Linked DNA regions of Homo sapiens: all the other regions are linked to region 1. Evidence: promoter capture Hi-C in 16 types of primary human blood cells and fetal thymus (Javierre and others, 2016). All regions are on one chromosome and are shown on one strand. The core of a region is centred on a gene start or on the middle of the fragment in contact, and the rest is flanking DNA. Distances in the headings are between cores, read along the strand shown.

Region 1 (4,322 bases), core at 949-3,448:
CCCAATATGCAGGTTTCCTGAGAAATCTCTGAAACTGTACTGGGCAGAGCGGCTGGGAGGGATGAGTCTGCCCCTTGGTGCCTGAACCTCTCGGTCCTTCCAGAGTGACATGAGGTGGGCCTGGCAGGTGGCTTTCTCCCAGCAGCAGGGACCTACCTTCTGCTGCCACTAGCCTGTTAGTAAGTAGGCTAAAATCCCCACTTTACACTTTGAGATGCAAGGCGGGCGGATCACCTGAGGTCAGGAGTTTACGAGACCAGCCTGACCAATATGGTGAAACCTCGACTCTACTAAAAATACCAAAAAAAAATTAGCTGGGCGTGGTGGCAGACACCTGTAGTCCCAGCTTCTCAGGGGACTGAGACAGGAGAATTGCTTGAAACCAGGAGGCGGAGGTTGCAGTGAGCCAAGATCGTGCCCAGCCTAAGTGACAGAGGGAGACTCCGTCTAAAAAAAAACCAGTTTACCTGCCTGGAGACCGTGGGGTTTATTCTTCATCATTCTCACCCCAGGGCAAAAAGAGACAACTCTCCATCCACGGTGGCAAGGCTGGGGTTCTGAGTGTGTCCCCTCGAGCACTGCGCTCCGCTAAGGAAAGTGCACGCCCACCCTCCCTTCCTTCTGGGTGACAAGAATCCAGGTGTGCAGCGTCCTCACTAGGTTGCTTCCTCGTGCTTGATACTCCCCGCTGAGCTGCACAGACGCGAAGCCTGCCTTTGCACAGCTCCGTCTCTGACCACTCAGTTATTTATCCATTCACTCAGCAAACACGTTTTCTTGCCTGCTCACTCCAAGTCCACTGCAGACGGACACCCTGCAGCCTGCCATGGACCCACAGATAGATTGTGTTTGGCCCACACCATGTTTTGTTTTGTTTTTGTTTTTGTTTTTGTTTTGTTTTTTTGAGATGGAGTCTCACACTTGTCACCCAGGCTGGAGTGCAATGGTGCAATCTCGGCTCACTGCAACCTCTGCCTCCCGGGTTCAAGCGATTCTCCAGCCTCAGCCTCCCAAGTAGCTGGGATTACAGTCACCTGCCACCATGCCCGGCTAATTTTTTGTATTTTTAGTAGAGACAGGGTTTCACCATGTTGGCCAGGCTGGTCTCGAACTCCTAACCTTGTAATCTCCCCACTCAGTCTCCCAAAGTGCTGGGATTACAGACGTGAGCCACCATTAAAATTTTGAATTAATTGCCAAAGTTGAAAAGTGTGGAAATTGCAAGAAAAATTCTGATTTTTGGATTTCTCTTGAATAATTTAAAAAAACCCAAAAATCTCACCATCCCATGTGACCACGTTCTCTGGCAGCCCCTTCCCGAGGTGACACAGGCCTGGCTGCCCCCTGCTGGTCCCTTCAGGCAGTTCACCTTCACTCCCTGTGACTGATGGACAATAACAAAACGAGTGTTTAGCATTAGCCATGTGCCAGTTTCTAAGTGTGTCAGACATATTGACTCACATCAGCCTCACAATGACAGTGTGGTAGATGCTATGATGCCCATTTATTCAAGAAAGACTTGCTGGGGGCCCAAGCCTATCAGGTTCTGGCAATGGAAATGCATCCGGGAACAACACAGACAAAATCCCATCCTTCACGGAGCTTTCATTCCGGTGAGGGGACATGCAGCGTGCCGATGATGGTGGGGGTTGTGCTATTATAGATAGAGGGTCAGTATAGGCCTGGCTGAGCAGGTGACATTTAAGCAGAGACATGACTGCAGTGAAGGTTTAGAAGAGTGTCCCAGGTGGAAAGAGGTGAAGAAACAAGCCTGGGGCCACACAGCTAGTTAAGTAGCCAAGCTGGGACTTGAACCCATGCTGGCCCCAGAGTCTGTGCTCCTAACCATTGCATTCTAGGGCTTGATATGAGATGCCAGCCCCGCCCCGAGATGCTCAGAGTTAGTGAGGAAGAGAAACAGGGAACATGGCTGCTGTTAGAGGGCTGGGGCTGGGGGTGCCGGAGGCCCCAGCTCTGAGGGTTCCAACCTCCTGTCCTGTTCTAGTATCGTCCCGGGAGGCCGAGATGAATTGCCTGCCTGCCCTGGGCTCTTTATTTTAATCTCACTAGGGTTCTGGGAGCACCCCCCCCCACCGCTCCCGCCCTCCACAAAGCTCCTGGGCCCCTCCTCCCTTCAAGGATTGCGAAGAACTGGTCGCAAATCCTCCTAAGCCACCAGCATCTCGGTCTTCAGCTCACACCAGCCTTGAGCCCAGCCTGCGGCCAGGGGACCACGCACGTCCCACCCACCCAGCGACTCCCCAGCCGCTGCCCACTCTTCCTCACTCATGGGGAACAGCAAAAGTGGGGCCCTGTCCAAGGAGATCCTGGAGGAGCTGCAGCTGAACACCAAGTTCTCGGAGGAGGAGCTGTGCTCCTGGTACCAGTCCTTCCTGAAGGACTGTCCCACCGGCCGCATCACCCAGCAGCAGTTCCAGAGCATCTACGCCAAGTTCTTCCCCGACACCGACCCCAAGGCCTACGCCCAGCATGTGTTCCGCAGCTTCGATTCCAACCTCGACGGCACCCTGGACTTCAAGGAGTACGTCATCGCCCTGCACATGACCACCGCGGGCAAGACCAACCAGAAGCTGGAGTGGGCCTTCTCCCTCTACGACGTGGACGGTAACGGGACCATCAGCAAGAATGAAGTGCTGGAGATCGTCATGGTCAGTCTCCCCTCTCCCCTTCTGGCTGGGCGGTGCCGGGGTCGCTCCGGGCTGGGGGTCCCCTGCTGCAGCTGCTGCAGAGGGAGTGGATCTGTGGGTGGAGCGGGGGATGCGGGCCACTGGCTCTGAGAGCGTGGTGCTCCGAGATGCTGATATTGATAGAGGGGTGGGCACTTGCCCACAGCTTCGTTGTCTTCCCGGAGCAGAATCTGAGTGTTTCCTAATACAGCCATGTTATGCTTGGCTTCACGATGTTTGGGTCAACAACGGACGATATAGACCACTGTGGTCCCATAAGATTGTAATGGAGCTGAAAAATTCCTACTGCCTAGTGACGTCATAGCACAGTTACTTTATTTTTCAAATGCATTTAGTGTAGCCTAAGTGTATCCGTAAAGTCTGTAGTTGTGTACGGTAATGTCCTAGTTCTTCACATTCACTCACTACTCACTCACTGACTCACCCAGAGCAACTCCCAGTCCTGCAAGCTCCACTCATGGTGAGTGCCCTAGACAGGTCTACCATTTTGTATCTTGGTTTTTTATTTTTTATTTTTTTGAGATGGAGTCTCACTCTGTAGCCCAGAGCTGGAGTGCAATAGTGCGATCTTGGCTCACTGCAACCTCTGCCTCCCGAGTTCAAGCAATTCTCCTGTCTCAGCCTCCCGAGTAGCTGGGATTACAGGTGTGCACCACTATGCCTAGCTAATTTTTGTATTTTTAGTAGAGACGGGGTTTCACCATGTTGGTCAGGCTGGTCTCAAACTCCCGACCTCCAGCGATCCGCCAGCCTCAGCCTCCCAAAGTGCTGGGATTTACAGGCATGAGCCACTGTGCCCGGCCCATTTTTTATCTTTATACTGTATTTTTACTGCATGATTTCTATGTTTAGCTATGTTTAGATGCACAAATACTTACCATCGTGTGACAACTGCCTGCAACATTCAGGACAGTCACGTGCTGCACAGGTTTGTAGCCTAGGAGCAAAAGGCTGGACCATGGAGCTCAGGGATGTAGTCGGCTCTACCATCTGTGTTCGTGCAAGGATGCTCTATGATGTTCCCACATAGAAGTTGCCTTAAGATGTGTTTCTCGGAATGTATTCCTGTCTCTGAGCGACACGTGACTATATTTACATTTTTTCTTTCTCTCCATCCTTTGTTTCTTCCTTCCTTTATTAAAATGTCCTTTGAAATTTTCAGCAGTACACATTCAAGTTGAATCACTGTTCATTCTAAACACACAATATGCTTCTAATATAAAGTAGAAAGAGGTCAAAGTTGGGGGCATGAACTCTGAGTTCTAGTCCTCATGTTCTCCCCAGCGCGGGGCGGATCATGGCACCACGCATGAGCCCCCGCTTCCCACGCGCGGCGTGGCTCCCCGGCTCCTGACAGTTTCCCTGTGAGGCGCACAGGCTTCCATATGGTTCCCAACACGCCTTCTCCCCTGTCCATACTGTCCTCCTGTCAGATCCTTTGTTGTGAAAGTAATGGCAAAAACCATAATTACTTTTCCACTAACCTCGTAGGTGTCTTGAAAATGGTTTATCTGATATAAAAGTAACTCATGAAATTTAGAAACCTAGGCAAAAGAGACTAACAATTGCCTCTAATTCCAACATCCAGGGAAAACTTTTCTTAGTATATCAGTA
Region 2 (4,322 bases), core at 1,236-3,735, 470 kb before region 1:
GTGGGGAATTTTAACACAGATCTGAAAGCGCAGGGGCATTGAGGGGTAAAGTCTAAGCATCTAACAGCCTGCCTGCCCCCACGAGTCATCAGAACCTGTCCAATCATCTAGGGAAGTTTTACACCAAGATTTTTTCAATAGTCACAACTTGCTTCTAGGCCGCCAGGTTCTCTTGCCACCATTACATCATATCACCAGTTCTAGACTCATCTTCAAATACATATGTGTGTGTGTGCGTGAGTGTGCATGTGTGCGTGTGTGTGTGTGTGTAATCTGCCCACTTTCCTGCTCACAAACCTCAAAAGGCCTCCCAGTGATCTCGGAATAATGCCTGACTCCTTTCCTGGGCACTGAAAATCCATCACAAATAAGCACAGCCCACTTCTGCCTTCACCTCCGTATTACCCCCGACCCCACCCCAGTCCTGTGCTGTGGCCTGGCTCTCCCAGTTGACCTTCCTAAAATATCCTGGGAAGACTTGTTTCCAAGCAATGATCCCTCAGTTCCCTAAGCCTAGAACCTCCTTCCTGTTCCCCTCACCCAGTTAAAAGTCTGCCTCCTTTAAGGGACAGGAGAGACTAGGGGAAAAGGCGTGGCTTTGGAATCAGAAATCCTGGATTTCAGTTCTGGTTCAATTGCGTACTAGCTGTGGGGCCTTTTAGCCAATCCTTTACCCTTTTAGGCCTCAGTTTCCCCATTTAGACCGTGGGAATAATAATAATATGAATCGTATAAACCTCTCAGCCTGGTAGAGAAAAATAAACATAATAAAATATATAAAATCGTCATCTAAACCAAAAAGTACTAAAAGATTATTATTATCTACAGTCACTACTTCTGTCCAGATCTTTTCCCTCCTTCAAAATAAATAAAATGTTATTATTATAACAATTCTGCTAATATTTTATATATACAACACACTTTATGGTTTTTCAAATACCTTGTACATACGTCGAATCCACTGTCCACAATCCAATCAGTTTAGGATAGTTTCATCTGGGAAAGTGATTTATCCTTTTCATGTCTATGCACTTCTCTTCCCATCTGCATTGTCAGCTCCTTTGGGGCAGTGATCTTAGCTCATACCCCTGTTCCCCATTCCCAGCACAGAGTCTAATACCAAGTAGGCACTCAAACATGATGCATTTCCAAAAACGAGATGTTACAGGCATAGGCTCTAGAGCCAGAGAGCACTTGAAACTCATTTCAGCTGCTGACTAGTTGTATGGCCTTGGGCAGATTGCTTAAACTCTCAGTAGTTGTATAATAGAAATGATATTAGCACCTACCTCACAGGACTATTATAAAGCTTCAGTGAATCAATATGGATAAAGCCTGGCATGTGGTGAGTTCTTAAGTCTTTTTTCTTTTCTTTCTTTCTTTCTTTTTTTTTTTTTATGTGAGATGGAGTCTTTCTCTGTTGCCCAGACTAGAGTGCAACGGTGCCATCTTCACTCACTGCAACTTCCACCTCCTGGGTTCACGCGAGTCTCCTGCCTCAGCCTGCCAAGTAGCTGGGAATGCAGGTGTGCACCACCACGCCTGGCTAATTTTATTGGTATTTTTAGTAGAGATGGGGTTTCACCATGTTGGCCAGGCTGATGTCAAACTGCTGACTTCAAGTGATCCACCCGGCTCGGCCTCCCAAAGTGCTGGGATTACAGGTGTGAGCCACTGCACCCAGCCTAGTTCTTAAGTCTTAATTATTACCATTAAATGAAACTCAGAGTCTGATTCCATTCTTTTCTTATCACTTCAGGCCTTTCAACACATGAGTCAGGATGACTCCCCTATGAGTCATCTTGATTCATTTATTCACCAGGACGAACATTTACTGAGCATCTGCTACATGCAAAAGGCTGCACCTCAAATAAAAGCAACTGTGCTTAGGGCTGATCACTCTCGGTTGCTTTCTTCTGGGCCAGAACTTTGCTATGGATTATGTCCTTCAGCCTTTCCTCTCTTGTTTTCTGGAACAGGAAATAAATAAGTTTGTGTTCCAACATCAAATCACCTAGGGAAGTTCCAGGTCTAAAAAAAAAGTATTCATATTTCTTTACTGAAGGGCTTCTCACATCCCTTAATATGCTAATATTTATGATGAATCTCTAACAGGAGGGAATAGAGTTTAACACATTTCTTAAGCTCATTTAACCACAGGACCATTTATTTCGAAGCGACCCTCCCAATCTGCATTCTGTCAAATCTACTTTAGAAAATACTTTGTGGAAGCCAGGCTCATGCCTGTAATCCCAGCACTTTGGGAGGCCAAGGCAGGCGGATCACCTGAGGTCGGGAGTTCGAGACCAGCCTGACCAACATGGTGAAACCCCGTCTCTATTAAAAATACAAAATTAGCTGGGCCTGGTGGCACATGCCTGTAATCCCAGCTACTCGGGAGGCTGAGGCAGGAAAATCGCTTGAACCCACAAGGCGGAGGTTGTGGTGGGCGGAGGTCGCGCCATTGCAATCCAGCCTGGGCAACAAGAGCAAAACTCTGTCTCAAAAAAAAAAAAGAAAGAAAGAGAAAGAAAGAGAGAGAAAGAAAGAAAGGAACGAAAGAAGGAAGGAAGGAAGGAGGGAGGGAGGGAGGGAAGGAAGGAAGGAAGGAAGGAAGGAAGGAAGGAAGGAAGGAAGGAAGGAAGAGAAAATACTTTGTGGAAGTCCTATCTCTACCTGCTCCTCCTCTGGTCTAAAATTCACTTTGATTAATGCAAACTATCTTTTGGAAATGCCCTACCTACATGAAATTCTACCCACTGGAGACTGATTAAGGAAACTTTGATTCAACAAACACTGATTATATACAATTTAAACAGATCACACTGTATTGCAGTAAATGGCTCTAACTTCTACATATACAGTTGTTCCTACATAGTCAAACATCACTTATATTTTAGCAAAAAATAAAAAAACTCCTAAGTAACTATAATTGTCACAAAGTCCACGTATTTTCATTAGAACCCACTAGAGCTGCACTCAGAACTTATTTACTCTTACTTTAGCCTGATCTTAATTTTGTAATCTCTTTCCCAATCAATAATACAAAATCAGGCTAGTAAAGACAAACTTACCACAGAAAGAAATTATACCTGAGAGGCTGGCCATGAAGGCAAAGACAGAAAATCTAAAAAGTAAGGCCAAGTGTGGTGGCTCACACTTGTAATCCCAGCATTTTGGGAGGCCGAGGCGGGAGGATCACTTGAGGTCAGGAGTTCGAAACCACCCTGGCCAACATGGTGAAACCCTGTCTCTACTAAAAATATAAAAATTAGCTGGGCGATTATAGCACATGCCTATATATAACACATGGGATTATAGCACATGCCTATAATCCCAACTACTTGGGAGGCTGAGACAAGAGAATTGCTTGAACCTGGGAAATGGAGTTTGCAGCGAACCAAGATCACGCCACTGCACTCCAGCCTAGAGGAGAGAGCAAGACTCTGTTTCGATAATAATAATAATAATAAATAAAAGTATACACCAAAATTCACAGCAGGAACAATTAGTGCAGGCATGATCCACTAAGAACCAGATCCTTGATGACTTTATTATATCATCTCCCAGACCCCCAGAGTGATCAAGAAAAACTTAAATTCTATTCAAGATAGTAGGTTACACAGAGCAGGATAATGTAAAATACATTTTGGAAAGCTTTTCTTCCAGTAGATTTTTAAACAAACAAATACATAAATAAGACTGGATGTGTTAAAAGGTCAACCTTAAATTTCCAGAGATTTCTGAGATGAGAAGCACACCATCCCATACCAATGCTGGGTAAATGAGGTGTAGTTACTGTCCACACTACTGATCACCCATTGCTTGACAAAGCATCCTGTGGTTCTGCCCTTCAGTGACCTTCTTAGCACACTCTGCTCCAGTTCCACTCAGCCCCTAGGACTCTCTAAGTCTCAAAGATCTGTGTCCAACGTCAAAATCCCTATGCAGCTGACTTGGCATTATGCAGCCTCCACTGGTCATTTATCCAAGTAACTTAACAAGAGTGAGAGATCAGGGCTACGACGCATTTACATCTAACAAGTAAATGGTGCTCCCCCAAATATAGCCAAGTTAGAGTGCTGGGCTGGCAGATTTGGGAGTATAAAGAGAGCTGGGGGGTCACACTCCTGAAATTGCTGTGACCGCAGCATCTCTAGGTAAGTGCTCACAAGTGCTCACTTTTTTGCTCCACGTAGCTATAGTTGCACCTGATCAGGTTACCAGTCAAGGGGGGAAGACAATAAAGTAGCCTTTACGGAGGGCCTACTAAGTGCAAGGTCTTGTGTTGAGGGCAAGGTTGGAGACAAGATGGAAAGACA
Region 3 (4,322 bases), core at 1,823-4,322, 440 kb before region 1:
GACAACCGTATAACATGAGTATTGTCACTGTCTCCCATTTTACAGACAAAACTGAGGCACAAAGAAGCAAAACCAAAACCTAAACCTAAACCTAAACCTAGAGCAGTCCGACTCTAGAGCCCAGGCTCTTGGCCACTATAACTGCTGGAAGCAGTGGAGAGGCCAGGCATTTTGAGAGTGAAATAAGCAGGACTTGGTGCCTGTCTGAACAAAGGAATGTCAGGGGCAAGAGAGAGAAGGATGTATCACCCCTTTCAAGTTTAAATGACAAGAAGAAGAATAATGGTACCATCTACCTGAATGGGCAAAGCAAGAAAAGGAGATAATTCGAGGAGAGAGTAAAGCACGCATCTGGCCTCTGATTAAGTACTTAACATAGACTGCCCTAGATTTTTATTAACTCATCTCCCCACCCAGCAATGAAGCAAGGGTCCCAACCAAGAAGTTATCCCTGGGGGCTGGGCAAGGTGGCTCACACCTGTAATCCCAGCACTTTGGGAGGTGGGCAGATCACAAGGTCAGGAGATCAAGACCATCCTGGCCAACATGGTGAAACCCCATCTCTACTAAAATAAAAAAAAATTAGCCGGGCCTGGTGGTGGGTGCCTGTAATCCCAGCTACTCGGGAGGTGAGGCAGGAGAATGGCGTGAACCCAGGAGGCGGAGCTTGCAGTGAGCTGAGATCGCGCCACTGCACTCCAGCCTGGGCAACATTGAGAAACTCTGTCTCCAAAAAAAAAAAAAAAAAAAAAAAGAAGTAGTCCCTGGGGAGCAGCATTTCTCTGCCTTTTTGATGAGCTCAATGCAGGCCCCCAGGTCCTTCTCAAAGTCAATGAACGTCTGCTGAAATATATGAAAATATATAACCCATGAACTGTAGGAAACAGCCAAAAGTCAAGTGCTTTTGACCATCTCCAAACATTTGAAGGGAGGGTCAAGTTTTGTACTTCTCTTTCAACTATGAGCATGGTACTTTGCTTAAATTAGGAAGGTGCCTCATGTATATTGTCAACTGTCCAAGTGGTGGCTCCTTTACTCATATAACATTTTAACGTATTGTCAGACTCCAACATAACTATGTAATTAATTAATTTTTTTTTTGAGTCGGAGTCTTGCTCTTGTCACCCAGGCTGGAGTTCAATGGCACGATCTTGGCTCACTGCAACCTCTGCCTCCTAGGTTCAAGTGATTCTCCTTCCTCAGCCTCCCAAGTAGCTGGGACTACAGGCGCTTGCCACAATGCTTGGCTAATTTTTGTATTTTTAGTAGAGACAGGGCCATATTGGCCAGGCTGATCTCGAACTCCTGACCTCAGGTGATCCACCCGCCTTAGCCTCCCAAAACGCTGGGATTACAGGCATGAACCACCGTGCCTGGCCTGTAATCAACATTCTTTTATGAAATCGAAATATCAGTAGGTCAAAATTGGCCACGGAGTATCTTATTGTTAAAACTGCATCTAGGAGGCAAATTGGAAGTTCCTGAGAACCATGGGCCCCTGGATATGGGATTAAAGCTTCAGTGAACAAGTCCAGACCTGGTACAGATATGACAACATGAAAACATTTAAGAAAATTACAGAAAACACTTCTGGGAGAAGCCAGGGGCTGACTGGACACTTTAGCAGCTACTGTTTTTGCATGATGCCATTTTTTTCTCTTCCTTCAGTGGCTGACAAAGCCGGATACCTGATGGGACTGAATTCTGCAGAAATGCTGAAGGGCCTGTGCTGTCCAAGGGTGAAGGTTGGCAATGAATATGTCACTAAAGGGCAAAATGTCCAGCAGGTAATGGAGATGCTCTGAATCCAGTTGATTGAGATCTTTTGCTATTTGAGCCATTATCTTAAAGCTCCTTCAGTTGCAGGTATCAGAAATGCACATGAAATCAGCTTTCACATTAAGAGGAAGTTCATTTTTAGGCTTCAGAGGCAACTGAAGGAATGCAAATCATTAAGTGCCCATTGGACGCCATGAGGACCTGGAATTAGAAAGTGAAGAGCCCTCTGGAGCCAGGCAGCCTCCCTCCAGCTCCTCTGGGATTCATGGGCTGTTGAGTCTCTCCTCTGTTGTGTCCTTGCTAGGCAGATAAGTTTCCTGGACCTCTCTTGCCCGTGGCCACCCCATAGCTCCCAAGTTTATATCTCTGTGTTTCCAGCCTCACCCTGAGACTGAGACCAGTGTCTTTTGATCCCTATTCCAAATTCTTAGGAGAGATACTCAATTAATCCAATCTGGATCAAGTGTTCACCTCTGGTCTAATTAAGTGTGGCCAGGGGCTGGAGTCATGTGCTATAACCATGTTGTTAGAAAAATATCTTTGTGAATAGGATAGTTCTCAAAGAAAGGTGAACAACATGAGCTGGGCAAACACCTCATAAAATATTTAATATTGCATTGAATGATCTGAAATTGCCAATATTCAACTGCTTTTGATTTTCTTTTTTTCTTTTGTTTTTTTTTTTTTTTTTTTTTTGAGACAGAGTCTCGCTATGTCACCAGGCTGGAGTGCAGTGGCACGATCTTGGCTCACTGCAACCTCCACCTCCCAAGTTCAAGTGATTCTCCTGCCTCAGCCTCCCGAATAGCTGGGACTACAGGCGCCTGCCACCACACCTGGCTAATTTTTGTATTTTTAGTAGAGACGGGGTTTCACCATGTTGGCCAGGATGGTCTTGAACTCCTGACCTCGTGATCCGCCCGCCTTGGCCTCCCAAAGTGCTGGGATTACAGGTGTGAGCCACCACGCCTAGCCAACAGCTTTTGATTTTCGAGTCAATTTCATATGTTTCAACTTAATGCAGCCATAGAAACACTAACTCAAGGGTTGAGTGGGTGATCCTTTTTCAAGGTGACCAATTCGGTGGGTGCTCTGGCCAAAGCCGTCTACGAGAAGATGTTCCTGTGGATGGTCACCCGCATCAACCAGCAGCTGGACACCAAGCAGCCCAGGCAGTACTTCATCGGGGTCTTGGACATTGCTGGCTTTGAGATCTTTGATGTGAGTTGTGACCTTCTACTTTCTTGTCTGCTTTGCTGAATCTCCAATGTATTTTCCAAGCTCACTCAAATTCTTTGGTATTTGAATCACCCAGTTCAACAGCCTGGAGCAGCTGTGCATCAACTTCACCAATGAGAAACTGCAACAGTTTTTCAACCACCACATGTTCGTGCTGGAGCAGGAAGAGTACAAGAAGGAAGGCATCGAGTGGGAGTTCATTGACTTCGGAATGGACCTGGCTGCCTGCATCGAGCTCATCGAGAAGGTAGAGAGATACTGCTGCCTGGGACAGCTCCTCCTTATTGGGGGCCCTCCCCTTCTTGCTCTGATTCTTTTCTGCTCACAGATTGGGGCCCCTAGCCCCCAGGCTGCAAGCCTTCAGATAGATAACTGAATGCCTATTTGCAAAGAGAATGAATGTCCTAAATCTGTTCTGACACTTAAAGAGGTTTACGGGTCATTAAAATCCAAGGGCTCAGTTATCTCCAAGAATGTGATGGAACCCCAGTAAGGACTGTGGCATTTCTTACCTATTTGACTTACCCAAAGACCCAAGGAGGCGGAACCATGGAGCAGTGTGGCTCTTGGAGGGATGTTAATATGAAAACAGGAATAGATATTAACTTTTTTTTTTTTTTTTTTTTTTGAGACGGAGTCTTGCTCTGTCACCCAGGCTGGAGTGCAGTGGTGCAGTCTCGGATCACTGCAACCTCCACCTCCCAGGTTCAAGCGATCCTCCTGCCTCCACCTCCTGAATAGTTGGGACTACAGGTGCCCGCCACCACGCCCAGATAATTTTTTTTTTCTTTTTTTTGTAGAGACGGGGTTTCACCATGTTGGCCAGGCTGGTCTCAAACTCCTGACCTTGTGATCCACCCACCTCAGCCTCCCAAAGTACTGGGATTACAGACGTGAACCACCACGCCCGGCCGACATTAACTTTTTAAAAAGGAATTCCCATAATATTTGAGCACTGCTCATGTTGGAATGAGTATATCTTCCTAAGGTGGCTACTGAGAAATTGGGACATTATTGTTCAAAATATTACTCACATTACTTTATGGCTATATATGAAACTTTACTTTTTTGTACACCTATTGAAAAAAGTATGCTAGGTTTATACACACATAATTTTATCCTATATTCTTTTGTTCAGCAAATATTAATTAAGCACATACTCTATGCCTAGCACTTTCTGGTCATCCCCCAAACAGACCAAGAGTCTTGCTCTCACCGAGCGTACATGCCAGCATTCCTGGTACCAGAGTGAAAGCACCAAAGAAGGTTTTTTGGCTTCTCCAGACCATGAAGCATGGGTATGC
Region 4 (4,322 bases), core at 748-3,247, 420 kb before region 1:
CCCTCATTTGCAGACCTACTCTGGATCCAGAGGATCTGCCAAGCTTGGCTGCACCTCCTTCCCACCTAACCGAGAAAGACGGAGGATGGGGTCCGTCGGGGACAGGTTGGGGGTGCAGAGACCAGACCTTGCTGGATTTATTAATTTGAGTCCTAATGGGTGTACAGGGACTCCATCTTCTGCATCCAGTACAACATCCGCTCTTTTATGAACGTCAAGCACTGGCCCTGGATGAACCTGTTCTTCAAAATCAAGCCCCTGCTGAAGAGTGCAGAGGCCGAGAAGGAGATGGCCACCATGAAGGAAGACTTTGAGAGGACCAAGGAAGAACTGGCCCGATCTGAGGCTCGCCGGAAGGAGCTGGAGGAGAAAATGGTCTCCCTCCTGCAGGAGAAGAATGACCTCCAATTGCAGGTCCAGTCTGTAAGTACCTTCTACTTGAGAACGCAAAACACAGACTCTGGAGGACAGAAAAGGGGGAGGAACATTGAGGGCGCCATCAGGTGTCTATTCGAGAGACAGTGGTGCCACCCAGTGGTCATGTGGAGTATTGCAGCACCACCTTGCTCGTAAAAGGATGCCTGGTCCCGGGCTTAGCAAAGCAGTGAATGCCGGAAATTATGTCTGCAAAGAGAATTTGTGCTCTCCCTGATTTCTCCCCGTCATCGCAGAGTTAGATATATTTTGCTGTGGGCATGAGGGATATATATGTGTCATATGTATATGCACCACAGCTTTTAAAAATCAATAAAAATAAAAATAATCAAAATTAAATAACCCAATTCAAAGTAGCAAGAGTAATTTTCTATATATTATTTACAATAATATGTAAAAAGTGCTTTAGGCCGGGCGTGGTAGCTCATGCCTGTAAGCCCAACACTTTGGGAGGCTGAGGTGGGAGGATCGCTTGAGCCCAGGAGTTCAAGACCAGCCTGGGTATCATGGCAAAACCCCATCTCTGTAAAAAAATTTTTAAAAACTAGCAGGCGGCCGGGCGCGGTGGCTCACGCCTGTAATCCCAGCACTTTGGGAGGCCGAGGCGGGAGGATCACGAGGTCAGGAGATCGAGACCATCCCGGCTAAAACGGTGAAACCCCGTCTCTACTAAAAATACAAAAAATTAGCCGGGCGTAGTGGCGGGCGCCTGTAGTCCCAGCTACTTGGGAGGCTGAGGCAGGAGAATGGCGTGAACCTGGGAGGCGGAGCTTGCAGTGAGCTGAGATCGCGCCACTGCACTCCAGCCTGGGCGACAGAGCGAGACTCCGTCTCAAAAAAAAAAAAAAAAAAAAAAAAAAAAAAAAAAAAAACTAGTAGGCATGGTGGTGCATGTCTCTAGTCCAAGATACTCAGAAGGCTGAGGTGGGAGAATCACCTGAGCCCAGGTAGTCGAGGTTGCAGTGAGCTGAGAACATGCCACTGCACTCCAGCCTGGGCAACACAGTGAGACCCCGATCTCAAAAAAAAAAAGTGCTTTAAAGATACATAGTTTTATCAAAGAAATGGGGCAGTATAGGCTGGACGCGGTGGCTCACACCTGTAATCCCAGCACTGTGGGAGACCGAGGCGGGCAGATCACAAGGTCAGGAGATTAAGGCCATCTTGGCTAACATGGTGAAACTCCGTCTCTACTAAAAATACAAAAAAAAAAAAATTAGCCAGGTGTGGTGGCACACGCTGGTAGTGCCAGCTACTCAGGAGGCTGAGGCAGGAGAATCACTTGAACCCAGGAGGTGGAGGTTGCAGTGAGCCGAGATCGTGCCACTGCACTCCAGCCTGGCAACAGAGCAAGACTCCGTCTCAAAAAAAAAGAAAAAAGAAAGAAAGAAAGAAAAAGAAAAGAAATGGGGCAGTATAATTGTCTCTTTCACAGAGTGAAGGCATTTATAATTTTCCCTTTTTAATAAATCCCCAAATACTTTTACCTTTTGTTTTTATACAGAGCATTTTCCGCTCCCCTTTTCACTTTCCCAATCACTATAGTGAGTTAATAGGAGCACTTTCCCAGGTACAGCGGACAAGAGAACAGCTCTTGGAACAAGATAACTGGGTTTCTATCCCAGATGCTCCACCTGATAGCTGTGTGACCTTGGATGAGCTACATATCCTCTTTGTGCTTCTGTTATCTCGTCTGTAAAATGGGCATAGTCAGAGTACTCACCTCATCCAGCTATTGAAAAATCAGAGTGGTTAATGCCTGTAAAATGCCTGGCACACAGCTCATGTTTATAGATGTTCAGCAAACATTAGCATGCAGGCTTGCCAGTCTCCTCCCATGCATTACCCTGCAGTGTGTGTCTTAAAATACTCTTATATGGGCCGGGCGTGGTGGCTCACGCCTGTAATCCCAGCACTTTGGGAGGCCGAGGCGGGCGGATCATGAGATCAAGAGATCGAAACCATCCTGGCCAACATGGTGAAACCCCCTCTCTTCTAAAAATACAAAAATTAGCTGGGCATGGTGGTGGGCACCTGTAGTCCCAGCTACTCAGGAGGCTGAGGCAGGAGAATCACTTGAACCCAGGAGGCAGAGGTTGCAGTGAGCCGAGATCGCGCCACTGCACTCCAGCCTGGCAACAGAGTGAGACTCCGTCTCAATAAATAAACAAATATATAAATAAATATTCTTATATGGGAAGATATAGCCCGATTTAGAACAGAAGTAGCTGATCTTGGTCTGTCCAAGAGACTCACTGCAGCATCTTCTGGGACATATGTATTCAATCACGAATTCTTGGGTGTTTTTAATTTTCTGTTCTGTGGTTCGAGGAGACACAGCTAAGGAGACATAGGTAGAACTTTTCTGTTGAAAGGACCAGGCCTGGTGGCTCATGCCTATAATCCCAACACTTTTAGAAGCCAAGGCAGGAGGATCACTTGAGCTCAGAAGCTCGAGACCAGCCTGGGCAACATAGTGATACCTTATCTCTAGAAAATAAATAAATCCATATATTTAAAAATAAATTTAATGAAAGTTAAAAGATAGTAATGTTTTGAAACTATTTTGTCAGCTTGAGATAACATAGAGTAGATGAGTCATTTTCCAACTGGTGGTAGCAGGAAGAGTGAGATAACCAGCTGTTCAAATGTGGCAAATTTCTAGAGGCTTCATTCTTTAAAATGAACTTGTAATTTCACAAACTCCTCTGTTTGAAATTATTATAAGTGAGGCCAGGCATGGTGGCTCACACTTGTAGTCCCAGCACTTTGGGAGGCTGAGGCAGGAGGATCACTTGAGGCTCAAAGTTTGAGACAAGCTGGGAAACACATGGAGGCCCCATCTGTACACACACCAAAAAAGAAGCCAGTCATGGTGGCACATACCTTGTAGTTCCAGCTACTTGGGAGGCTGAGGTGGGAGGATCACTTGAGCACAGGAGTGTGAGGATGCAGTGGGCTACACTCACACCACTGCACTTTAGCTTGGGCAACAGAGCAAGCCCTTGTCTCTAAAGAAATAAATGAACAAATTATTATATGCAAATTTCTATAAGCAATGTTCTTGCTAGTTAAAAAAAAAAAAAAAAAAAAAAAACATGTATATGGACCAGGTGCAGTGACTCATGCCTGTAATCCCAGCACTTTGGGAGGCCGAGGCGGAAGGATCACCTGAGGTCAGGCGTTTGGAGACCAGCCTGGCCAACATGGTGAAATCCCATCTCTACAAAAAAATACAAAGATTAGCCAGGCATGGTAGCACATGCCTGTAATCCCAGCAACTCGGGAGGCTGAGGCAGGGAATCGCTAGAACCTGGGAGGCAGAGGTTGCAGTGAGCAAAGATCATGCCGCTACACTCCAGCCTGGGCCACAGAGAGAAACTCCATCTAAAAAGAAAAAATGTGTTTATGGGTGATATCTAAGTTTATGTACACGTGTGTGTGCAGTGTGTGCACATGTGCGTGCATGTGTGTGCATGACCCATTTCTTGGCTTAGGTGTAGATAATAAGCTTTTAGAGGGTGATACCCTTTCTTTGTAGCATTTTCAAAGAGGCCAATCAAAACATAAAATGACCTGGTTCTTTCAGGAAACAGAAAATCTGATGGACGCTGAGGAACGGTGTGAAGGACTCATCAAAAGCAAGATCCTACTGGAAGCAAAAGTCAAGGAGCTGACGGAGAGATTGGAAGAGGAAGAGGAGATGAATTCTGAATTGGTTGCCAAGAAGAGGAATCTGGAAGATAAATGCTCCTCTCTCAAGAGAGACATTGATGACCTGGAGCTGACCTTGACGAAAGTTGAAAAGGAGAAGCATGCCACAGAGAACAAGGTGAGCAAACCCAAGGGACTCCCACAGTGTCTTAACAGGCTTCACTCTCTCTCTC
Region 5 (4,322 bases), core at 957-3,456, 400 kb before region 1:
GAGCTAGACCGCAAGGTCATTGAGAAGGATGAAGAAATCGAGCAGCTAAAAAGAAACAGCCAGCGGGCAGCAGAGGCCCTGCAGAGCGTGCTGGATGCTGAAATCCGCAGCCGGAACGACGCCCTGAGGCTAAAGAAGAAGATGGAGGGAGACCTTAATGAGATGGAGATTCAGCTGGGCCACTCCAACCGCCAGATGGCAGAGACCCAGAAGCATCTGCGCACGGTCCAGGGCCAGCTCAAGGTGAGCACGGTGGCCGCCTCTGCGTACCTGGACGGGCCCCAGCCTGCCAGGCGGCTCTGGCCTCACTCTGGGTCTCCCCTGCAGGACTCCCAGCTGCATCTCGATGACGCCCTGAGGAGCAATGAGGACCTCAAGGAGCAGCTGGCCATCGTGGAGCGCAGGAATGGCCTCCTGCTGGAGGAGCTGGAGGAAATGAAGGTGGCCCTGGAACAGACGGAGCGGACCCGCAGGCTGTCAGAGCAGGAGCTGCTGGACGCCAGCGACCGCGTGCAGCTCCTGCACTCCCAGGTGCGTCGGCCCTCACTCCTCCGCTGAAGGTCCACCCTGGGGCAGATAGCGCCTCCTGCACCGTGCAGCTGCTTCCGCTATCCCTCCACTCAGGGCCCACGCCGTGGGAAGGAGCACCCGGTTTCTCCCAGACTAGTGGTCAAGACAAATTTTCTTTTAAGCTTGCTTCTTGGAATAACTGACTCTTGATTGACAGATTTCTGAGCTTTCTCTCATCCAAACATTAAACATCTTGCACGTTGTGGGGAAATCAGAGCAACGAAGGATTAATTATTACGTAAGGCACCTGGAAGTACTATTTAAGTGGAAACCTTAGAATATTAAGATTTTATTTCAAAATAATTATTTTTGACCCGGCTCAGCGCCACACCTATAATCCCAGCACTTTGGGAGGCCAAGGTGGGAGGTTTGCTTTAGCCCAGGAGTTGAAGCTGCAATGAACTATGATCATGCCACTGCACTCCAGCCTGGGCAACAGAGGGAGACCCTGCCAAAAAAATAAACAAACAAACAACAACAACAAAAACACAAAATAATTATTTTTATAAAAGTTTTTAAAACTCCTTTGTTTAAAAAAATAGAAAAAACAAGTAAATACATGGAAGAAAAAAGTCAAGCATATTATTAACATTCTGGGGTCTCTCATTCTTAGGCCCATTGTGAATTATATAAATATTATATTTTTGCCTCTAATCCCAGGAATTTGGGATTGTTTGATCTCAGGAGTCTGAGACCAGCGTGGGCAATATGGCAAAACCTTGTCTCTACAAAAAAAAAAAAAAAAAAAAAAGTTTTAATTAAAAATAAATACATATATATATAGTCAAAGTATGAGCAATCTTTTGCAACCTCTTTTTTGAATTTAACAATCATGAACATATTTTGACATCTTTTTTTTTTTTTTTTGAGACAGAGCAGAGTCTCTTTCTGTCGCCAGGCTGGAGTGCAGTGGTGCGATCTCAGTTCACTGCAATCTCTGCCTCCTAGGTTCAAGCGATTCTCCTGCCTCAGCCTCCTGAGTAGCTGGGATTACAGGTGCTTGTCACCACACCCAGCTAATTTTTGTATTTTTGTAGAGACGGGGTTTCACCATGTTGGCCAGGATTGTCTCGATCTCCTGACTTCAGGTGATCCGCCCGCCTCAGCCTCCCAAAGCTCTGGGATTACAGGCATGAGCCACTGTGCCCAGCTTCGACATCTTTAAATAGTCTTCTATATGATTTTTAATGACAGAAAAGTAGGCTATTCTACTTGTATATTATGGCCCTTTCATTTAATCAGTCTTCTGTGGTTATTTTAGATTGTTCTCAATAAAAATTTTACTTTTAGAAAGACTATTTTGATGAACTTCCTCATAACTAAATTTTCATATACTTCTATGATTACTATAATCTTAATATTTCTAGAAGTAAATAAATTTCTAAAAATGAAATTTCAAGGTCCAAACAGCAAAAGTATTTGTAATATAAATTGTTCTTTAACAAGGTTGTCCCAATTTTTATTTCCACTGGGGAAACGTGTGAGAGTTCTCTTCTATAAATTCTCAAATACTCTAGCTCTTATTTTAAAAATCTTCACCAATTTTATTGCTGAAACATACCTCACTGAGTTTTTAGTATTTTTTTTATTGCTAATGAGGTGGAACATTTTATCACATTTGTTGGCCATTTGAATTTCTTCTAGTATTTTACCCATTTGTAGTTTTTGCCCTTTTTTTAATTGATTTGCCTTATTTGTATGTTAAGAAAGGGAATATTTTCTTCTGTAATGTACATTGCAAATGTTTTCCAGTTTGTCGTCACCCCTTACAATTCTATTTATGGCATATTTTGATTATTTAAATTATTTTTCATTTCATATAGTATGTCTATCATCATTTCCTTGTTCCAAGACTTTTTACTGAATAATCTATCCATCCTCAAATATTTGAAATTCTACTTTTATCATTTACTGAATTCTTTCATGTACAATTCTTGGGTCTGTTTCAGGACTTTCTGTTCAGTTAAGAATAAAGAAAGAATGTACAGTACTGTACCCAGCAGGTCACCCATGTGAAAAATAAGAAATGGAACAGGATCACAATTTACTTCCCTCCCCAGCCAACCCTCTCCCAATTTTTTTAAGCGCCCCAATAGAACCCACACCCCTGATATCTAATTCTTCTTGTAGAACACAAGCCTGATAAATACCAAGAAAAAACTGGAGGCTGACATAGCTCAGTGCCAGGCAGAGGTGGAGAACTCGATCCAGGAGTCCAGGAACGCAGAGGAGAAGGCCAAGAAGGCCATCACGGATGTGAGCTCTGTTCTTCCTTTTCAGAGATGGGGTTTGGAACTGAGAAAGTGGGGCCTCTGAGCCAGGGTGTGGCAAGTATGTTTCATCTCTTATGACAACAATCGGTTAGTGGTGGCTTCCCAGACAGATGTAATGAGGTACAGTCTCAGCAGTGGCAAAGTGGGAGGGGAGGCTGTGGGGAATCAGCAATGACTGGCCCCAGTCAGACAGGGGAGGCTCAGCACCATGATCCCAGCCTTCGCCTCTTCTGCAAGCTCTGGGTAGGGATGGGCGGACAGGGCCTCTGATGTGTCCTGTGAACTTAACCAGGCTGCCATGATGGCTGAGGAGCTAAAGAAGGAACAGGACACCAGCGCCCACCTGGAGCGGATGAAGAAGAACCTGGAGCAGACGGTGAAGGACCTGCAGCACCGTCTAGATGAGGCTGAACAACTGGCGCTGAAGGGCGGGAAGAAGCAGATCCAGAAACTGGAGAACCGGGTAGAGTTTTTGAGAGGACTGTTACTCTGAAAGTGACAGCCTCGGACAGAACCACAGTCCAGAAACTGAGATGGTGGGAAAAGGCCACTGAATGAATAGATTGCAAATTCAGTTTCAGGACTGCTTGAAAAATTCCCTGTGAGCTTCATTTCTCACCTCTTTCTGTTTCACCTGTTCCTATGCCCCAAAACACACACACACACACACACACACACACACACACACACACACACACACATCTATTTTGGTATGCTCACACCTCAGTAAATGTAATATAATGATGTATGTTAATGTTCACATTCCATTTGCTATGCAGATTCAGATGCACGCACATACATGGAAAAAACTATTAACATATACTCTACAGTCATAAAATTACTCATTTTGATGCATTTACATTTTGGACCAAGCTTCACTTTGATCAACACAGCCCATCCTACATAAAATCTGCAGTTTCCGTTTTCTCCCAATCTCAGGTTTCCTTCCCTCCCCAGCTTTTCTCATCTGTCAGTGCAGGCTGCAATTCTGGCACAGGTATGTCTCTTGCTCCAGCCCCAAAAGAGGGCGATCGGGGCTTCTTCCTTTAGCTTGATGCACCAGCAAAGTTCAACCCCCCGACACCTGGACATCCCTGCTCTTTCTTTATCTGGGAGCGTATCCTGCAGTTATTATTCAGTTTCTTTGCTGACTGTTCCCTTTGTTTCCTGTCTCCCTTGCTTTTCCTTTTAGACCCATGTGGTTTATTTCAATCATTTTAAAATGGGCTCCACTAGTGGTTGACATTTTGGAGGAGGGCTCTGCGGAGGAGGCTGTTCGAATGTCTCTTGTCCCAGGGAGACAGGAAATGAAAGAGAGGGAGGAAAGGAGGATGAGGAGGAGGAAAAGAGAAGGAGACAACTTTTCCCAGCAGGAAAGCCTCCAAATACTGTCATTCTTTATGCAAACCACCCGAGGATATCCTCCCCAGGCACATGGTCCCATTAAATGTGAAAGGATTTTTTTTAGGGAGGTGCTAA
Region 6 (4,322 bases), core at 761-3,260, 380 kb before region 1:
ACCCACAGCCAACTTCATACTCAATGGGCAAAAGCTGGAAGAATTTCCCTTAAGAACAAGAACAAGGCAAGAATGCCCAGTCTCACTACTCCTATTCAATGTAGTTGGAAGTCCTAGCCAGAGCAATCAGCCAAGAGAAAGAAATAAAAGGCATCTACATAGGAAAAGGAAAAGTCACATTATCTCCCTTAGCTGACAATATGATACTATACCTAGAAAACCCTAAAGACTCCAGCAAGGCAGGGCGCGGTGGCTCACACCTATAATCCCAGCACTTTGAGAGGCTGAGGTGGGAGGTTTACTTGAGGTCAGGAGTTTGAGACTAGCCTGGCCAACGTGGCAAAACCTTGTCTTACTAAAAATACAGAGCAGTTTGGAGATTTATCAAAGAACTTAGAACTACCATTCAGCCCAGCAATCTCATTACTAGATATACACCCAAAGGAAAATAAGTTGTTCTACCAAAAAGACACATGCATTTGTATGTTCACTGCAGCCCTATTCACAATAGCAAAGACATGGAATCAACCTACGTGCCCATCTATGGTGGATTGGATAAAGAAAATGTGGTACATATACACTATGGAATACTACTCAGCCATAAAAAAAGGCTCAAAGATTCAATGCAGAAGCAGACTTGAGAATCAGCTATCTTCTGGTAAGCCAGAAATTTTAAAGATTTGCAAAAATGTAAGACAATACTACTTTCAACTCACTATTTTTTGTTTTGTTTTGGGAAATAGTCATTTTCATAAAAATAGATTATATTAAGGTAATGCATTAATTATTGCTATCTTAAATGAATTAGTAATGTTTGTAATTTCTCAGTTTTATTGTCTAGTATGGTAAATTTCAACAGATAGGACCCAAATAAATGAAAATTCTTTGGAGTCTTCAGTAATTTTTAAGAGTGTAAAGGGGTCCAGAGACCAAACTTTGGGAAACCTTTTAGCTAAATCTTGAAGAAGTCTATTGTGGCCAGGAGTTATCTCCTTCTACTCCTCTCTCAGCATAGCCTCAACCTGTCCCCAGTGAAGTAAACATGCCCAGGGTTCAGTGGAGGAAAAGGGAAAAGGAAACCTCCCACTTCCTTTCCTGGAATGTGCCCTGGACAGCTCCCCTAGAATGCCAGGGGAAGTGTCACATCCTGTTCTCCCGAACAAATGACTGTAGAGGTCTCCCCATCACTGAAGGTGCTGAGCATGTCTGAGCCAGTAGGGAGAAAAGAGGGATGGAGGGAGACTCCTAGAACTACAGAACAAGGAGAACTCCTTACACACCCACACTACTATGCTGATCCTGCTCCCAGCCAATATGTCCACTAATAGCTTTGGAGGGAATGTGAATTTAGCTGCTGTCCTGGTTTTAGGGGCCCTGTACCTTCGCTTTCTATAATCCCCTGTCTTCTTCCTCCCCTGAAAAAAACAAGCACGTGGGGGCATCCCCCCATCGCATATCCTGCAAGCTTACAAAAACTAGTTATCCACCAGGCTTAAGGGAAGACTGGTATAAATGATCTGCGGTTTCCCATTGCTTCCAGCATTACAGAGCCCAGCGCGGAGAAGCTGTCATCTGTGCTCTATTCATTACTGTAAATGACTAGTGTAATACATGAGGAGATGCTTCGCGGCACTGGAAAAAAACAGTGCAGTGAAGATGGTTGTGAAACACTCATGTCAGGATTGCTATATTTCTTTTTTTTAATTTAATTTTATTTTATTTATGTATTTATTTTTGAGACAAAGTTTCACTCTTGTTGCCCAGGCTGGAGTGCAATGGTGCGATCTCGGTTCACCAAAACCTCCGCCTCCCAAGTTCAAGCGATTCTCCTGCCTCAGCCTCCTAAGTAGCTGGGATTACAGGCATGCGCCACCACACCCGGCTAATTTTGTATTTTTAGTAGAGACGGGGTTTCTCCATGTTGGTCAGGTTGGTCTCGAACTCCCGACCTCAGGTGATCTGCCCGCCTCGGCCTCCGAAAGTGCTGGGATTACAGGCATGAGCCACGGTGCCTGGCCGGGATTGCTATATTTCTTGGCTTTAAACACTGATGAGAGTGAAATGTTTAAGGAAGAAATAATTCCAGTTTTACCCAGACTCTTCCAGAGGAGGAATGCGGACAAGAAAGTCATGCCCCAGCTTATTTTATGAGGCCAGTATTATCTTGATATCAAAGCAAAAATTATAGGTCAATTTCACATAAGAACATCGATGCAACAAATCCTAAAAAACATATTAACAAACTGAGTTCAGCAATATATAAAAAAAATAATATAACCTGATATAAGGTTGGATTTATTCCAGGATTTTAAATTTAATTTAACATTAGAGAATCTATTCGAGTTAATACACTACATAAACAGATAAAAGCAGAAATTCATGTGATCATTTCAATAGATGCAGAAAATATATATTTGATAAAATTCATAGCCATTGATGATTTTTAAAAATGCTTTCTCTTAAACTGGGAATAAAAGGGAACTTCCATGATGTGAGAAAGAGTCTCTAGAAAAGTCTTACAAAAACATCATATTAAGGAAATGTTGAAAGCTTTTCCTTTGAGATCAGGAATAAGATATGAATGCCAACCATCATTATTTCTATTCATCAAGGTACTAGAAGTCCTACCTAATACAATACAGCAGGAAAAAGACACTTAAAATACAAAGACTGGGAAGGAAAGAACAAAATTATTATTTGCCGATTGTATACAAAGAAATTTCCAAAGAATCAATATATAAAATATTAGAATTAATAACAGGGTTCCGCAAGGTAGCTGTTTTCAAAAATCAAAGTACACTAAATGCAATGAGGTATACTGAATTGGCTCTTGGAAGAGAAAAAAAGACTAGTGGAAAAACTGGTGAAATCCAAATACAGCCTGGAATTTACCTGTTAGTAATGTACTGATGTCGACCTGTTACTTTTTGACTAATGTACTGTGGTTACATAAGATGTTAGCATTAGGGAAGGCTGTGTTTGGGGTATACAGGAACTCCCTGTACCATATTTGCAATTTTTCCATAAATCTAAAATTATTCCCAAGTAAAAGGTTTATTTATAATTTTTGTTGGTTTAAAATTTTCTTTTTTTGGAGACAGGATCTTGCTCTGTCACCTGGGCTGGAGTGCAGTGGCATGACCACAGCCCACAGCTGCTTCGACCTCCTGGGCTCAAGCAATCCTCTCACATCAGCCACCCAAGTAGCTGGGACTACATGCACACACAACCAAGCCTAGCTAGCTAATTTTTTTGTTTGCTTGTTTGTCTGTAGAGACAGGGCTCTCACTATGTTGCCCAGGCTGATCTCAAACTCCTGGCCGCATATGATCCTCCTACCTTGGCCTCCCAAAGTGCTGAGATTACAGATATGAGCTACCACGCCTGGCTATAAAATTTTTTTGACTTAAAATACAAAAGTAAATTGTACTTGTATATACAAGCATCAGATAATTTCAAAGGTTGAAAATTATTTTTTAAAACTATGCTGTTTCTAATTAAATAAAATGAATCAGGTTCTTAAAAGTAAATCAAACAAAGCATGTATAAGACCTCTATGAGAAAAATCATAAAACACTCTCATTAAGAGTGTTCTGAGGTGAGCAGGTCTATGCAAACCCACACCCAAAGGCCAAGGGAGCTGAGAAGCAAAACAAAGAGCCTGACCAATCCAGTTTCTCAGGAAGAAATATTTAATGGGGACTTATGAACAGAAGTGATGTCTCTGGTGGCCATGACACAGTGGATCCCCATACCCACCCTTCAGAAAATATCTTTTCTATAGCAAGTTTCTATGGTAAAACAGGTGCAGCTGGTCATATCTCAGACTTTCTTATTGCAACTCATGACCACTGGAAAGGTTAGGTGACCATCTTTATGATGGGTTGTCTGTGCTACAGGTATTGTTTTAAGACCTGGCTGCAAACCACCTTGGTATGCAGGAATTAAACATTGGTCATCATTGCAGTTTAGCTTCAAGATGCCTCTTGCCATACAAGAGGCTTTTTTCCTACACAGAACTATTTGATTAAAAGACCTAAAGGTATACCACATTCATCAATTAGAAGACTCAATAGTATAAAGGTATCAATTCCTCCCAAAATGATTTATTCAGTGCAATCCAAATAAAAAGTCTCTACAGAGTTTTCTTTCTTCCCTCCTTTCCCTCTCTGTATACATCTCTCACTCTGTCTCTCTCTATCTCTGCCTTTCTCTGTCTCTATCTCTGCCTTTCTCTGTCTGTCTCTCTCTTTCTTTTTCATTGACAGAGCTTAACAAGATAATTCCAGATTTTATAAGGAAATGTAAAAGATCAAGAATAG
Region 7 (4,322 bases), core at 1,330-3,829, 360 kb before region 1:
ACCTGTAACCCCAGCACTTTGGGAGGCCAAGGCAAGTGGATCATTTGAGGTCAGGAGTTCGAGACCAGCCTGGCCAACAGGGTGAAACCCCATCTCTACTAAAAATACAAAAATTAGCCAGGCGTGGTGGTGGGCACCTGTAATCACAGCTACTCAGGAGGCTGAGGCAGGAGAATTGCTTGAACCTGGGAGGTGGAGGTTGTAGTGAGCCGAGATCATGCCACTGCACTCCAGCATGGCCGACAGAGCAAGACTTTGTCTCAAAAGGAAAAAAAAAAAAAAGCTAGAGGAAGACCAACTCAACTCACATCTCATCTTGATCACATAAGACCGTTGACTCAGGATACAATTTCATGAGATATAAGAATGGGATTGAGGAATAAAGTTCACTTTCCCATCAAGTGTGATCATTTCCCTGACCAGCTGAATAACATCTTTTATCCCAGTCACATGAACAGTTGCCTCCACCATCATTATGAGTCAAAGTGTCTCATTCATGCCAACTCATGGGGCTTTGGGCTCCCACACATGAAAAGTTGGAAAGTGACAATCCAGTCAAAACAGAAGTTTGGCATCTCACAGTAAAAAGGAAAATAAAAACCTCAGACAAAGTTTTGTTTGTGTCTCTTCACATGTGTTTGTGAGAAAACACACCCACACATAATGTCGAAAGGCCACACTGGCCTGATTGCATCCTAAGCCCAGGCATTTCTCTGTAGCTCTGACCACATTCAAATGTTTTAATTCAACAAGTGTTTATGGATTTCTACAATGCCTTTCTTTCATCTGGACAAGTTAAACCAAGCTGTTCTGTAAAGAGAATACAATTCATCATGATGCTGCTGTGTTTGGAGACAATTTTGGTAAAATGAGCGCCATCCTCTACAAGCTGTGAATTTACTCCTCTGTTCATCCATCCACGCATCTACTCATCCTCCTATCCACCTGTCTTTCCACCCATCTATCCATCCATCTACTCATCCATCCATTTATCCATCCATCTATCCATCTATCCATGCCACAAATATATCCATTCATTTCCTTGGGGCTTTCACTATCCTATCTTCTTCCTTGCTTAGCAGAGAAGGAGTTGCACCCTGTTAAGACTTCACTTTTCACATGGAATGCCTTGCCCACTTCTTCATTTTGTGAAATCCCACTAATCCTTAAAATCCAAGCTGGGCTCTCTTTTGGAAGACTCTTCATGGACCTCCACTGTCAGACCATAGTGTTCCATCTTAATTCTTATGGTACTTATGTTTTGTGTTCTTTTATTTTTATTTTCATTGTTTTCTTTTTTTTTTTGAGACAGAGTCTCGCTCTGTTACCCAGGCTGGAGTGCAGTGGCGTGATCTTGGCTCACTGCAAGCTCCGCCTCCCAAGTTCACGCCATTCTCTTGCCTCAGCCTCCCGAGTAGCTGGGACTACAGGCGCCTGCCACCACGCCTGGCTAATTTTTTGTATTTTTAGTAAAGACGAGGTTTCACCGTGTTAGCCAGGATAGTCTCGATCTTCTGACCTAGTGATCTGCCCACCTCAGCCTCCCAAAGTGCTGGGATTACAGGCGTGAGCCACCGAGCCCGGCCTGTGTTCTTTTATTATGTAGTAAATTGCTGTCTTCAACATCTCTTCACTGTTATTTTCCAGTGCTCTTGTCTCTTTTAATGGAAATATTCTGCATGATTTCTTACCTCCGCAAGTAAATTGTAAACACTGTGAGAAGGGAGACTCTGGTTTTTACTTCTTTGCAAGCTTCCTTCACAGCTGGCTTCTTGCCCAGTATTATGCAAATTATAGGCATCCAACCAATATACATACATTAACTGGGTGCCTAGTTTCCTCATCTGGGAAGTGGGGACAACGTTGGTGTTATAGAGATATTGTGGGGCTGGGCATGACGGCTCATGCCTGTAATCCCAGTAGGAGGCCAAAGTGGGCAAATGGCTTGAGCCTAGGACTTTGAGACCAGCCTGGGCAATATAGTGAGACCTCATCTGTACAAAAATAACAAATTAGCCAGGCATGGTGGCATGCACTTGTAGTCCCAACTACCTGGGAGGCTGAGGTGGGAGGATCACTTGAGCCTGGGAGGCAGAGATTGCAGTGAGCCGTGATGGTGCCACTGCACTCCAGAATGGGCAACAGAGCAGGATCCTGTCTCAAAGTAAATAAATACATAAATAAGTATTTAAAAATAAATACTGTGTTAATTGAGATAGCGTATAGTAAAGAGCTTCATGAACTGCAAAATCCTAAAGACATTATTACTGACAATAATACTGCTTTATTTGTAATAAAAATAAATAACAGTTAATAAGCACATGCTAAGTTACCTGCAATCTGAACGAATTCATGAACATTTCATTAGTACTTACAGGATCATTTTGTCCGGTACAAGGCACAGGCACTAAGCTAGAAGGTGGATGGAACATAGTCGTTGTCTTTAAGGGGCTCATGTTTTAGCAAAGAGGCAGAAACATAGGTGGCCTGTGATTGTGTATGAGGCTGCAGAAAGCACCATAACACAGACACAAAGTGCTCAGAAACGCTTAAGAGATTCCTTAATTCTGCCTGGAGGGATTAGGAAAAAATTTGTGGAAGGATTGTCAGTTGAGCTAAACTTGAAAGATGAGTAGAAGTATAGTAGATGGAGAAGGAGGAAAAGAATGTTCTAGGAAAGAAAGAACATAGATATGCAGGTGTGTATGGGGAAAAGGAAGCAGGATTGTCTGATGACGACCTGAAGTTCCTTGGGGAAAAGGGTAGACAGCAGATACTGAGAACCACGCCTGACCAGTAAACCATGAGCCCATCGGGAGCTTTGTGAACTGTATTAAGGAATGTGAGCTTGATTCCAAAGACAATACAAAACCACAGAGGAGGAAAATGATTGGATTTGTATTTCAGCTAAATGACTAGCAGTGGCAATGCTCTCTGCTGCAAATAGTAGAAACTCAATCACAAACCATAAGAACGCATATTGTCTCACCTAACTGGAAGTTGATGGGGAGGCAGGCTGCAGGCACAGCATAATCAACCCCTCTAATACGCATGCTCCTTTCACGACACTTACTATTGGCTTATTCTTGGATGGTTGTAAAATGGTCATTCCAGTAACACATCCAGGCACAACTAAATTCTGATGCATCCACCCAGGAGACACCACTCTCCCGTCGCCACCCAGTCTCATTAGGCACACAGTCCTGGGACAAGACAAAGCCATTGGCCATGGCTATACTCAAGGAGAAGACAGGAGGCAAGGAGATGAACTGAGAAGACAGTGCAGATCACTGGCATAAAGTAATAAAACCCAGACCAGAGATGTGGCTGTGGGCACGAAGAGGGAAAAACAACTTGCAACTTATCTGATGTGGAAGAGCCAGGAGTTGAGAATGCTCAAAGCTTCCAACCTTGGGTGTCAAAGTGCTTAGTGTTCTGTTGCCTGAGGTAGGTGTCTGGGTGGTCACTTGGTGATACGGTTTGGTTGTGTCCCCGCCCAAATCTCATCGTGAATTTTAGCTCCCATAATTCCCATGTGTTGTGGGAGGGACCCGGCAGGAGATAATTGAATTTTGGAGTCAGTTTCCCCCATACTGTTCTCATGGTAGTGAATAAGTCTCACAAGGTCTGATGGTTTTTTTTTTTTTAGACAGCCCAGGCTGGAGTGCTGTGGCACGATCTCTGCTCACTGCAAGCTCCACCTCCTGGGTTCACACCATTCTCCTGCCTCAGTCTCCTGAGCAGCTGGGACTACAGGCACCCACCACCACACCCGGCTAATTTTTTCTGTATTTTTAGTAGAGACAGGGTTTCACCGTGTTAGCCAGGATGGTCTCGATCTCCTGACCTCATGATCTGCCTGCCTCGGCCTCCTAAAGTGCTGGGATTACAGGCATAAGCCACTGCACCCGGCCCCTAGATCTGATGGTTTTATAAGTGGGAGTTCCCCTGCACAAGCTCTCTCTTGCCTGCCACCATGTAAGATGTGACTTTGCTCCTCCTTGCCTTCCACCATGATTATGAGGCCTCCCCAGCCATGTGGAACTGTGAGTTAATCAAACCTCTTTCCTTTACAAATTACCCAGTCTTAAGTATGTCTTCATTAGCAGTGTGAGAACATACTAAAACACTTGGCATGCCCCCCAAGGCCTGCCAGACAAAGACTGCGAAAGAGGCTTCACCCAACATCCCTCTTTCCTGAAGAGCCAATATAGTGCTGTGGTTAAAGGGCTGACTCATGTTATGCCACCTGTTTTCCATGCCTTATGAGCTGAGAACCCGGGGTAAATTCTCATTTCCTCATTAGTGAAATGAGTATAATA

The links. The method cuts DNA at HindIII sites, captures the fragments that hold promoters and counts their contacts. A CHiCAGO score of 5 or more calls a contact.
Region 2: a fragment that was not itself captured here is called in contact with the fragment with the promoter of RCVRN in region 1 in 2 of 17 cell types (monocytes and naive B cells); the score reaches 6.1 in monocytes.
Region 3: a fragment that was not itself captured here is called in contact with the fragment with the promoter of RCVRN in region 1 in 4 of 17 cell types (monocytes, M0 macrophages, M2 macrophages and 1 more); the score reaches 8.5 in monocytes.
Region 4: a contact is called between a fragment that was not itself captured here and the fragment with the promoter of RCVRN in region 1, in 8 of 17 cell types (neutrophils, monocytes, naive B cells and 5 more). The highest score is 10.0, in neutrophils.
Region 5: a contact is called between a fragment that was not itself captured here and the fragment with the promoter of RCVRN in region 1, in 5 of 17 cell types (M0 macrophages, naive CD8 T cells, neutrophils and 2 more). The highest score is 7.5, in M0 macrophages.
Region 6: a fragment that was not itself captured here is called in contact with the fragment with the promoter of RCVRN in region 1 in 4 of 17 cell types (monocytes, neutrophils, fetal thymus and 1 more); the score reaches 10.5 in monocytes.
Region 7: a contact is called between a fragment that was not itself captured here and the fragment with the promoter of RCVRN in region 1, in 3 of 17 cell types (monocytes, neutrophils and M2 macrophages). The highest score is 7.1, in monocytes.

Annotation. Positions count from the first base shown.
Region 1 is chr17:9,903,147-9,907,468 of GRCh38, reverse strand. It overlaps RCVRN (recoverin), which reads left to right and starts at 2,198. Exons shown (of 3, transcript NM_002903.3): 1 at 2,198-2,669. The coding sequence starts at 2,289. The HindIII fragment of the contact is 11,305 bases long and covers 1-4,322 here.
Region 2 is chr17:10,372,817-10,377,138 of GRCh38, reverse strand. MYH13 (myosin heavy chain 13) reads left to right here and starts at 4,133. Exons shown (of 41, transcript NM_003802.3): 1 at 4,133-4,160. The HindIII fragment of the contact is 2,348 bases long and covers 1,312-3,659 here.
Region 3 is chr17:10,344,145-10,348,466 of GRCh38, reverse strand. It overlaps MYH13 (myosin heavy chain 13), which reads left to right. Exons shown (of 41, transcript NM_003802.3): 13 at 1,669-1,787; 14 at 2,851-3,000; 15 at 3,095-3,265. Among named protein-coding and RNA genes, the nearest start is that of MYH13, 27 kb to the left of the region's middle. The HindIII fragment of the contact is 3,108 bases long and covers 1,519-4,322 here.
Region 4 is chr17:10,323,967-10,328,288 of GRCh38, reverse strand. It overlaps MYH13 (myosin heavy chain 13), which reads left to right. Exons shown (of 41, transcript NM_003802.3): 22 at 168-423; 23 at 4,025-4,267. The region is part of intron 4 of LOC107985004 (a long non-coding RNA gene); the gene reads right to left. Among named protein-coding and RNA genes, the nearest start is that of MYH13, 47 kb to the left of the region's middle. The HindIII fragment of the contact is 3,903 bases long and covers 46-3,948 here.
Region 5 is chr17:10,305,443-10,309,764 of GRCh38, reverse strand. It overlaps MYH13 (myosin heavy chain 13), which reads left to right. Exons shown (of 41, transcript NM_003802.3): 34 at 1-243; 35 at 328-531; 36 at 2,701-2,826; 37 at 3,136-3,306. The region is part of intron 1 of LOC107985004 (a long non-coding RNA gene); the gene reads right to left. Among named protein-coding and RNA genes, the nearest start is that of MYH13, 65 kb to the left of the region's middle. RefSeq lists an enhancer at 1-347. The HindIII fragment of the contact is 3,024 bases long and covers 695-3,718 here.
Region 6 is chr17:10,283,342-10,287,663 of GRCh38, reverse strand. No RefSeq gene overlaps it. Among named protein-coding and RNA genes, the nearest start is that of GAS7, 87 kb to the right of the region's middle. The HindIII fragment of the contact is 1,085 bases long and covers 1,468-2,552 here.
Region 7 is chr17:10,266,704-10,271,025 of GRCh38, reverse strand. No RefSeq gene overlaps it. Among named protein-coding and RNA genes, the nearest start is that of GAS7, 70 kb to the right of the region's middle. The HindIII fragment of the contact is 1,650 bases long and covers 1,755-3,404 here.